Regions from separate parts of the Homo sapiens genome. Here region 2 is linked to region 1. The links are contacts of gene promoters, found by promoter capture Hi-C in blood cells and fetal thymus (Javierre and others, 2016). All regions are on one chromosome and are shown on one strand. The core of a region is centred on a gene start or on the middle of the fragment in contact, and the rest is flanking DNA. Distances in the headings are between cores, read along the strand shown. Region 1 holds the start of YAF2 (YY1 associated factor 2). Region 2 overlaps PRICKLE1 (prickle planar cell polarity protein 1).

Region 1 (5,724 bases), core at 1,857-4,356:
ACCCATAAATGGGAGGCAGTTGGTATAGTGCAAGGGCATATGATTCTGTGCTCCACAAAAACTAGGTTCCTGGTTCATCGACAAGGATGTGTGGAGTTGTAAAGTTCATTTTGAAGGATAAATGTTAATTCTGGCATTTATTGACCATCCACTGCATGCAATATGCCTAACAGTTTGTAAATCCCAATATGAAAGAAAAAAATCTCATTCAACAATTGTAACACAAGTGAATGTATTGATTATTTAGTTTAGAAACAGGGTCTTGGCTTTGTTGCTCAGGCTGGTCTGGAACTCCGGGGCCCAAGTTATCTTCCTGCCTCAGCCTCCCAAGTAGCTGGGAATACAGGCGCGCGCTAACCTGACTATAAGTGGATGTATTTATTCTCAGAATATTTATTGAGTGCCCACTATGTGTCACACTGTTCTAGGGGCTGGAGATGCAGCAATAAAGGCAACAAAAGTTATTGTGCTTTTTGTTCATGATTCAGAGGTGCGGCTTACTTTTTAGTGAGGGAGGTTACAATCTAGTGAAATGGTGATTTGCAGCATGGGGGATTTTTAGAGTGCTTGATTTAGTTTCCTTTTTATTTAAAAATACATTGTTGCCATCACTTTTGCAAGTAGAGCAGTTCTTGTCAGTCTATTTGAGGATCCATCCAGTTGAGGCATTTAAAAACATCACAATGCCTTAGACTTGCAAGGGACCTTAGTTGTGATAATAGTTTTAACTCCTTTATTTTACATATGAAAAAAACTTAGCTGAGTTTACCCACTGCATTACTGAGAGGTTAAAGACTAGGCCTTAAATCTGGTTCTCTTGTATACGTGCCTCAATCATACTCCTCATGGTTCCTGGTTTCCGAATTTGGGTCTGAATCATGAGAAGCTACATTTGCAAAAAGTACAGATGGTACAACGAGTTTAGAGACTGCTATGTAAATGGAGTGATTTGGTTAATCAGAAAGAAGATGCGGTGAAAGACCAATAGGATACCTGAGCTCTAACCCTGGCCTGCTCATCAAAGAAAAACCATTTAACCTGGGCCCTAATTGCCTTGTCTTTAAAAAGAAGGGCTAGACTACGGATTTACAATGGCTCGACTTACGATTTTTCTACTTTACGATGGATTTATCGGTGTACCAAATGCATTTTCAATTTACAATATTTTCTATTTAAGGTGGATTTATCGGGAAGTATCCCCTTTCTAAATCGAAGAGCATCTGCAGTCGATGAGGCCATGTGCATAGTACTTTGAGTCCTTTAAAATATGCATCTATGCGCAGGGATTTACAAAGTGCCTGGCACATAGTGCTCAAAAAAATGTTATTTATTTATTTACTTAGAGGCGGAGTCTCGCTCTGTCGCCCAAGCTCGAGTGCAGTGGCACGATCTCGGCTCACAGCAACCTCTCACTCTCGGATTCCAGCGATTCTCCTACCTCAGCCTCCCGAGTAGCTGAGATTACAGGCGCCCGCCACCACAGCTGGCTAATTTTTGTATTTTTTAATAGAGATGGGGTTTCGCCACGTTGGCCAGGCTGGTCTTGTGAACTCCTGACCTCAGGTGATCCGCCCGCCTCGGCCTCCCAAAGTGCTGGGATTACATGCGTGAGCGACCGCAACCGGCCAAAAAATGTTATTATTAATCGCACAACAATCTCATATAGATGCAATTCAGAATATGAAAACGTTGAGAATTACAGAAATTAAGCAATACTTCCAAGGTCTATCAGCTAAGAAACAGGAGAAGCAGGCTGAGAATCCTGGGCTTCTGACTGTATTATTTCCTATGTAGTTTAGCTATAAAATTATTTTACATGAATTCGGACTTGATGTAAACCTAGAAAGATGGACAGAAACAGCACAGTTAAAGAGGGATATACTTTATGCAGAAGTAACCCATGTGCATGAAGGAAGGGTTCTGGTAAGGGAATGAATTTCATCTGCACTCTTTGTCAGGAGGCAGCTTTCCTTATGGGAGAGGGAGGCAGAGGTAGGGAAAATGTGTGAAGCCTTTGAATGCCAGGCTAAGGAGTGTGGGCAAGTCGTTAGTGGTTCTTTATCAGAGTGGTGGCATAGTATTAACAGCATTTTATTATTAATCTGGTTGTGGATTACTGAATACATTGGGGAGGTAGAAGTGGAGCTTCGGAGACCAGTTAGATGGCTGTTGCTGGAGTCTGGAGTATGAGGACCTTTAGTATGTTGACGTAGAGACCTGGGAAGGTGTTCTTTTGTTAGCAGACAGCGTTGAGGGGACATGCAAACTCCTTATATTTAAAAAGGACTTATGAGTATATAGGGGTTTCTTTCAAAAGCAGCTACTGCAGAGGCCTGAGAGGCCAAAAGGGCGCGTTTGGAATTAAAACAGAGTTAGACTCTTGGCTTTGTCATTTTCTAATTATATAGCCTAGAGGAAGTCACCTAATCTCTCTTGAGTCTTGATTTCAATTCCTCTAAGTTAGGGTTGACAATCCCTACTTGTTAGAGCATCTGTGTGCATAAACCAGACAGTGCTTTAAGGCATGTAGCAATGGCGCTGCGTGTTGGTTCCCGCCTTCCCCCCGGTATACTGCAGGCGGGGGCTGGGTAGCTAAGGACAGCGGAGGCCAGGAAAGTCGTTCTACCTGGAGATCCCGGGCTGGCACTTCTGTCCAGACCTGGACAGGCCTCCGAACGCCGGCCGGCCCTACCTTGGACCAGGCTTCGCACGGGATGACGGAGCATCCCCTGCCAGTCGGTGGGACAGACGTTTTCCTCCTCAGAGGGGCTCTGGAGCGCGAGGCAGTCCCCGGCAGCCGGGGGTACCAAGGGGGCAACGGGGGAACAGCGCGGAGAGGCGGCGCCGGCGCCCGAGGCAGCCGCGGCCACCGCGGCCACCCCCGCACCGCCCGCCGGCTAACTCGCCGCGGGTGCTGGGCCGCGCTGGCCGCGTTTGAAGTCTCCGGCGCGGCTGCTGGTTGGCCGGCGAGGGTCACGTGCGCCCAGGCAGGAGTTTCCCCGACAGCTGGAGGCTGCGTGGGATCCGGCGGCGGCTCCCGAGCGCGGCGGTGCGGCCTTCCCCGCCCCCTCCCTCCCTCCTCCCCCGCCCGCTTCCGCCCGGCTTATTATCCTCCTTATTGACAAACAGAGCGGTCGCGGCGGCGACTCTCGGCGTGCGGTGATAGCCAAGCCATGGGAGACAAGAAGAGCCCCACCAGGTAACAGCGCCCGGGCCCCGGGGCCCGGACTGTGCGGGCGGCAGGGCCCTCGTGCAGGGCTTCGGGTGGCCGCCTCGCTAGCCGCCCGGGCACCGGGGCGAGCACGGGGGCAGCGCCGCTGGTGTGCGAGTGCTGCCGCTTGAGGGGGCCGGCGCCGGCCGCCCCACAATGGAGCCGCGATGGCGGCGGCGACCGGAGCGGCCGCCCGGGTGTCAGAGCGGCTGTGGCGGCGGCGACTGCGGCCGCGCTCGCGCCCTGCCTCTTCCTGACTCCCTTCCCCCTCAGCCGGAGCGCGGCGCGCCGAGGGCCCGCGGGGCGGGGGTCGCAGAATTGGGGCGGGGGGCGGGGCGGGGGCGGCCGCGGGGCCCGGGCACCGGGCGCGGCCTGCTGGTGACCCCGCGCCGCGTCGTGTCCGGGTTGTGTCCTGCAGGCCGAAGCGGCAGCCGAAGCCGTCCTCGGATGAGGGTTACTGGGACTGTAGCGTCTGCACCTTCCGGAACAGCGCCGAGGCCTTCAAGTGCATGATGTGCGATGTGCGGAAGGGCACCTCCACCCGGTGAGTCCCGGGCCTGCCCCTCGCGCCGCCGGCCGGCGGGGTGGCGACCAGAGGACGCCCTTGCGGCTGCCGCCCCCTCCCATGACACTGGCGGACCCGGCGGGAGGAGGCAGACGGAGGTGGCTGTGGCGATAGGAACTGGGTCACATTGATCGCAACCCAGGCGATGGTTTGCGGTGAGGGGTAATTGAAGAGGCTGTAACGTTTTTTGCTGCCAAGAGAGAATAAATTATTTAAGGGAGGCATTAGCTACTGCGATTTAATTCGTATCGCTGGGTGTAATGCCCCTCTCCCCATTCTGGGTATAAAAATGTTGGCTGCATTGTTGTGTTAGTGTGTGGGGATCAAGGAAAACCCATAAAATCTCTTTAGGAGCAAAGGATGTAATTTAATTTCGTTCCTAAAGAAAGAAAAGTATCTGATTGCAGAATACACAATATATTAAAACTTATTTTTCTACATGTACTTCTGGAAGGGTCAGATCAAGGTTTTATTTAGTGTTTTTATTCCAGTACTCTAATATTTTATAAATAAGTAGTTGGAGATGAGCCCAGTCACAGGAACAGATTTTTACTGAAAGTACCTTTATATCTTTAGTTTGATTAAATGGCAGTCTCTTAGACAAATGAGATGAAAAGATCTCTGCCTATTTTCAGACTTTATTTATTGTAAGCTTGCAGTATAATAACTCTGTCTTTTAAAAAATGACTTTGAATTAAGTGAATAAAGAAAATCATCCAGGAAATTCAGTCAGTGGCATTCTTAATCTGTCAGCACTTAGTTATCGAGCTCCTTGATTCTTATACGAAGGTACCCTTTGAATTAAATATAATCCTGTGATTTATTACTTAATATTTAGAGAAGATATGTATTTTGATATTACAAAGTCCATTAGAAACTAAACTATAACAATAAGCATACTAATCTTACTGTTGCTTTAAAAAAGAAGGCACATGTAATATTGACATATACAAATATTCAGTAGACGTTAGATTTCTAAAAAATGAGATCTTGATTTTTTAAAAAACACTTTACAGAATTTTATTAAGTTTAAAATTTAGAGACAGGAATGGTTGACAGTAACTTATCTGAAAAATTTCTCAGTGAAGCTCGCTGGTTTTGACATGCTTGTTTTTTGTAAATCATCATATGCTTTTTGTATATTCCCACAATTGATAAAATATTTCGTACATTTTTCATATTCAAAAAGCAAACTTTCAAACGTATGCTAAATTTAAGGGATTACAACAGAACATTCCAAAAAGAAAAAAAGTATTTGCTAAAATGATTGTGGTTACTATTTTTGGACCCGTGATTTGTGATTTAAGTATTTTGAAAAGCAGAGTATCTTCTTGGCTGTGTAAGGTTGGAGTTGGTTTAGAGTATATTTGTGTATCTGTGTTAGTACTTTGTGCTTTTTAAAATGCTCAATAAGCAATTTTTAGAAAATTCGTTTTTTGGAGGCAGGAACATTAAAGTGGAAACAATTATAATCTTGATCTCTGGTACTATATATTATTGCTTTTTGTTGTTCCCTCTCTATTTTCTTGTAGCCATTAGAAAAATACTGAAACTAGAAGAGCCTATATGTTTATTTGCAGGGACAGCAAGGAAGGGGGGAAGCTGGTGTCCTACTCCACAGCCAGTCTTGGGGTTAGAGGAACCCTGAGAAATAGAGTAGGTGGTGGCAGCTCAGAAGAGAAGAAACAGGCTGAATACCTGGCACCTGGAAGAAGAAGGAATATAGTACACAGGGGAGTTGGCCCAGGACAGAGAAGTGGGCCTAGTTTAAAAGAGGCTTGAGGCCCACATGGGGGCCCCTGACATTTTTTTTTTTTACCAGTACATCTAAGCTCTTGTAGATCCAATTTTTAGTGGTGGAAACATTACTTGAGGAGGACTCAGAGAAGCATTGTCATTTGGATTGAAACTGAAGAGGCTCTGGGCAACTCACCAGAAATCTAAGGGA
Region 2 (5,724 bases), core at 2,026-4,525, 340 kb before region 1:
CCTCAGTTGTAAAGTGAGGAGAGGCTGATGATTTTTTAAGCTCAAAATTTACTTGACTCTAAAAATGTGGAGGCCATAACTTCAGGGGGATAGATAATAAATAACAAATGTGAGCTGGTAGTGTTATTATTAGTCTCATCATTCTCACCACCCAAATCCCAAATTAGAATTTTTTTAACAGTCTATTTCAAAAGTATTCATATGAGCCAGGTGCAACTTATAGCCTTATTTATTATTCAGTGTGGCCAGTTAAAATTCAACAATAGCTATGTTTTAAAGGCCTGAGGGCCTAACAGAATATACACTTCCCCTGATCAAAAGTCTGGTTTATAGTTTACCTTAGAGTTCAATGTGACAGCTAAAAAAAAAAAATGCAGTGATATTACAGAGCAAATTATTAATTGAATGTTGTTACAATAGTGGCATACTTATGTTTATGCTAAAAATTACAAATGTGATTATTATGTTTATACATGGGAAATGTGGACAATTTTTAAAGTAGTACTCAAATTAGCATGTTCACTTGTTGACACACAGTGATTAAAACTGTGTTTAAAATGTGCGTGCCCATTGACCAAACTGGATTTAATTTTGGGAGGCTTAGAGAGGGTTTGCTGGAAAATAAAAATAACATAACATTCATTTTAGTTGCATTCCTAATATTTTCAATAACCCTAATAACTTTCTTATCTTCCAAACTCCCCAGATAAATGCTGGTGTAACTATGCAGTATGTAGTGAAACTCTTCCTATAATTAATCTTTGATAACACATGTTGGCATATGTCACCATACCTACTGGCCTAGATGTTCCTTTTAGTAGCATTGTAATTAATTAAATCACTCACTTTTCAGCAAATCCTTAGGACCTCAGGTCTTGTTCACATTCTAATTAGGCTGCACCCAAAGTTATAAGCAGCCACCGGGAAGCATTACTATCTGTATTATATCTGAGATTAAGTTTTTGAATTGTTCAGATGAACACAGCAGTGAGCCATGATGTGTCTCCCAGAAGATTCATAAGTGACTATGAAGTACTGTACCAATAGGAAGAACTAATAAATTTGACATTAATAATCGCCAGTTTGAATCTGGGTCACTTCAGCCATGACTCAAAGATCAAACGCTATCAGATGGTAATGACTGTGTGAAAATTCTGCAGGAAGGCATTTCATTTCTTAATGACACCTTTGTGGGCCTTCTCAGCAGACTGTTAGAGGGTGGAACAGAAATAAAGTCGAATATGCCCCTTGGTCTGGAGGCTAGCGCTCCAGGGTATGGTTGACACACTTTTGCAGAGATGCTTTAGGAGCAGTTCACAGTGTTTTCTGTTGTTCTCTCTCCTTAAATGGATCTACAGAACCTTTCATCTTTTGCCTCTTTTCCTAACCATTTATTCACTTCAAAGTGATGGGGGCTGTTTTGCATATTCTCTGCCTTCTTTTCTCTTCTCTGAAAAGTAAGGAGAAATTGCACTTACAAATGCATGTTAACCATTTAATGTTAAGCTTTCCCATTTTTATTTCAATTTGGTGGCATGGTTTTCCTTTCAACACACCTTTACTGAGTGCCTGTGGTTTGACAGGCATTATGGTAGGTTCTGGGAATACAAACATTACATAGGAGTGGTTCAGTTTTTCAAGAGTGCAGTGTTTTGTAAGGGAGGAAGGCATGTAAGCACTTACTGGCAATATGTTGTTGTAAAGGCAGGAATAGAGAAATGTGCTGGATATAGCAGTAGCACAGAGGCAAAGCCTGAAGTTATTTGTTCTATGTGGACTATTAAGGGAGGCTTCAAAGAGGAAGAGATTATTGAGCTAGGTCTTAATGACTAAATAGGAGTTTGGCCAAGTCATTATCAGAATAGCAGAATGGGCTAGTTTAGGCAGAAGGAAAAGTATATACAAAGGCAGGAAACATTAGACAAGCGTTATGCTTAGTGAATTGCAAGTTTTTTATTTTTTTTTTTATTTTTTTTTGAGATGGAGTTTCGCTCTGTCACCCAGGCTGGAGTACAATGGCACTATCTCGGCTCACTGCAACCTCCACCTCCCAGGTTTAAGCTATTCTCCTGCCTCAGCCTCCTGAGTAGCTGGAATTACAGGTGCCCACCACCATTCCTGGCTAATTTTTGTATTTTTAGTAGAGATGGGTTTTACCATGTTAGTTAGGCTGGTCTCGAACTCCTGACCTCAGGTGATCTGCCTGCCTCGGCCTCCCAAAGTGCTGGGATTACAGGCGTGAGCCACTGTGCCTGGCCCAAATTGCACGTCTTTCTATTTGGCTATAAGATTAACTGTACTCTTAGGGACTGATTGCCACCTTTGTAAATCAGTTTAAATCAGAAATAACATATGAATTATGACAACTTTTATTGTAATCCTGTCTTTTCTGTGGCTGGCCTTAAGGTTCTAAGTAACAGCTCTCTGTGTTCCTTCATAAATATGGCATTTACCTGGCCAACCTACCAGGTGTTTACACTTGTGTCTTTTCATTGTTATGTTGTTACAATCTGAACTTATTTACTCTTTAGTTTCACTGCCAGGTTTGAATTTCAGCCTCAAGTGTTTAGACAACATTATGTAATGAATATTATGCTTTTATGACATTTGCTTTAGTACTGTAAGAGCTTTCCATGAAAGCTAATGGTTGAAAAAAAAAAAAGAAGCCTGAATGTCACCAAGTGGCCTCCAGATGTGTTTTATTGTGTTGGTATCTCTGTTTTGTTTTCATAAAACTTTTTTTTAATCTTAAAAAAAAAAAAAAGCTTTACCAAGCAGAAATAGCAGACAATAGTCTCATAGGAGATGAACTATTTTCTTCATTTCCTGATTGTTATGTTTTGAACTCCTGCTTAAAAAAAACAGCAACAACAAAACTTATGATTCAGTTGAAGAAAACCTCCACAACGGTATAAATACTGTACTTTTAAAAGCAAATCATGTTTATTCGTTTGTTTTTTGAAGGTAAACTCACTTCTTAGGTTGAAATGTTCTGCCTTCTTAGGTTGGAAGGGTCTGTTTTAATATGTGATTTTTCAATATGGTGATATTAAAATTGTGATTTAACATCTTTGAGAATTTCTGCCATCTAGTTGTTCACTGAGCAATCAGAATGTTTTCAGGCAGTCTGGTGTGTGATAAATATTTTGTAGCATATGTGGCTGAACATGCCAATTTCAAAGCGCTTTACAAGCTTTAATTAATTTTCACAATAACCAGACACAATTTGCTTTGTTGATGGAAAGTCCACAGACAGTGGGGTTCAGAGTGTTGCCCATATTTGTATAGCAAAGTGGTTTTCAAACTTTTTTTTGTTGCTGAATGCTTTTCTCAAACACAAGATTATCTGGAAGCTTAGCATGGAAAGTAGGATTGCTTTTGTTGGGAGGTGGAAAGGAGTTTGTCATAAGGCAGCTATATTTATAAACACACACAAGATACCTAGTTAAATTTGAATTTCAGGTAAATAATGAATAAGCTTTTAGTATATGTGTGTCTGAAATATTGCACGTCCCCAAGAAATTATTGGTTGTCTATCTGAAATTTAGGTTTTACTGGGCATCCTGTATTTAACCTGACAACCCTAAGCCAGTGACCATAACCCCATCCCTCAGCTCCCTTTTCTCCTTCCAGCCAGGTGGGGTTCCTGGTTCCTTGAACACAGCTTGAAAACCACAGACAGGAGAAGTCTACACAAATGCTGAGAAAGAAATAATAGTACATTTTTCTTCTCAGTCCTAAATTTAGACAATATTACCACTTCCTTGGCTATGTTAGAGAACTTCATGATGATGCATACACTGCCACACATAATAATTTTAAAGAATTATTGCTCAGCCTGGTGCGGTGGCTCATGCCTTTTAATCCTACCATTTTGGGAGGCCAAGGCGGGTGGATCACTTGAGCCCAGGAGTTTGAGACCAGCCTGGGCAAGATGGCAAAATCCCACCTCTGCAAAAAATACAAAAACTAGCTGAGTGTGGCAGCATTGGAGGATTGATTGAGCCTGGGAGATGGAGGCCGTAGTGAAGTGAAATCTTGCCACTGCACTCCAGCCTGGGCAACAGAGTGAGACCCTGTCCCAAAATAATAATAATAATAATAATACAAAAAGAATCATACTTTCCTTTTCCTTTCTTTTATCTTAGAATAAAATACTTTCTCTGCCAATCTTTGGGAATAATGTTTAAGTCGCCTCTTTGTAGAAGCTAAAACCTTAACTCCTGTGAGTTAAAGAGAACTGATGGTATAATCCGAATTGCAGTTGGCCACATAGAGTCAATAAAGAGAAGAATAAATAGGAGTTTGTGAGTATGCCTCTAAAGCAGCCCAGCGCAGAATTGTCTCATGTGGACTTCTCCTTGTCTGTTGGTCTATTTGGCAAGCACATCTTGTAGTGGTCCTGGCTTGATGGCAATGCCCATTGAAGTAATTCTGTTATTTTGCTCTAATATTTTAAAGCAGCCCTCAGATATTGCTCTCGTTTCTCAAGTCAACTACTCCACAGAGCATTTTATTTATTTAGCCGTTAAATGTTTTAGTGTAAGTGAGTACAGTCTGATTAGCGATCAGAAACCGCTAAGTTTGTTTAGGCTGAAACACTCCTCCAGTGCCCAAGGAACTCACTGGATTAACTGATTTAAAAAAAAATTTTTTAAACATACAAGAAACTGAGGACCGTAGCCTGGATCTAAGGAAATCTATGTGCTTTGGGTTCGATGCTCTGCATGGGTGACCTACTAACTCTATGTAAGATTTTGTATTTGCAAAATGTTAGTAGTGATTTACTTCCTGGTGGTTAGAATAGGAATGGGTATGATTTTATTAAAATTTTTTTTCCTTTGAGACAGAGTCTTGCTCTGTTGCCCAGACTGGAATGCAGTGGTGCTGTCATGGCTCACTTGCGGCCTCGACTTCCTGGGCTCAAGTAGGCCTCCTACCTCAGCCTACCAAGTAGCTGGGACTACAGGGGCATGCCACCATGCCTTGCTGATTTTATATATATATATTTGTAGAGATGAGGTCTCACTTTATTGCCCAGGCTGGTCACAAACTCCTAGACTCAAATGACCCTTCTACCCCAGCCTTCCAAAGAGCTAGAATTACAAGCTTGAGCCTTGATTTTATTTTTTTATGCCATTCTCAGGTTTTTCAAAATGTGGGCTATAAGCACGTTATTTTAAAAACAAGTATTTTTAATTTATTTATTTATTTATTTATTTATTTATTTATTTAAGACAGAGTTTTGCTCTTGTCACCCAGGCTGGAGTGCAATGGCACAATCTCGGCTCACTGCAACCTCCAACTCCTGGGTTCAAGTGATTCTCCTGCCTCAGCCTCCCAAGTAGCTGGGATTACAGGTGCCCGCCCCCATGCCCAGCTAATTTTTTGTATTTTTCAGTAGAGATGGGGTTTCACCATGTTGGCCAGGCTGGTCTCGAACTCCTGGCCTCAAGTAATCCGCCCGCCTCGGCCTCCCAAAGTGCTGGGATTACAAGCATAAGCCACCGCGCCCGGCCTAGAGATATATTTTAAACAATGTTCCTGTGCTTAAATGTTCCAAAGTAGAGATGAAGATCATCTGGGATATTAATAATTTTTTTAAATCTGCAAATGTTTATATATCTTTCAAGGTTAATTGTATTGTGAAATCTGCCCAAATTGTTTACACTTAAAATTTCTCTCTCATTCATTCATTTGTTCATTCAACAAATACTTACTGAA

What was found. Contacts are between HindIII fragments. The CHiCAGO score rates a contact against its expected background, and 5 or more counts as called.
Region 2: a fragment that was not itself captured here is called in contact with the fragment with the promoter of YAF2 in region 1 in 1 of 17 cell types (total B cells); the score reaches 5.8 in total B cells.

What each region holds. Positions count from the first base shown.
Region 1 is chr12:42,235,630-42,241,353 of GRCh38, reverse strand. YAF2 (YY1 associated factor 2) reads left to right here and starts at 3,106. Exons shown (of 4, transcript NM_005748.6): 1 at 3,106-3,199; 2 at 3,630-3,755. The coding sequence starts at 3,174. LOC124902920 (a long non-coding RNA gene) reads right to left here and starts at 2,909. Exons shown (of 2, transcript XR_007063279.1): 1 at 2,627-2,909; 2 at 2,076-2,217. RefSeq lists silencers at 2,361-2,500, 2,691-2,930, 2,981-3,360, 3,461-3,530, 3,651-3,980 and an enhancer at 3,314-3,815. The HindIII fragment of the contact is 7,822 bases long and covers 1-4,430 here.
Region 2 is chr12:42,571,947-42,577,670 of GRCh38, reverse strand. All of the region lies in intron 1 of PRICKLE1 (prickle planar cell polarity protein 1), which reads left to right. Among named protein-coding and RNA genes, the nearest start is that of PRICKLE1, 15 kb to the left of the region's middle. The HindIII fragment of the contact is 160 bases long and covers 3,196-3,355 here.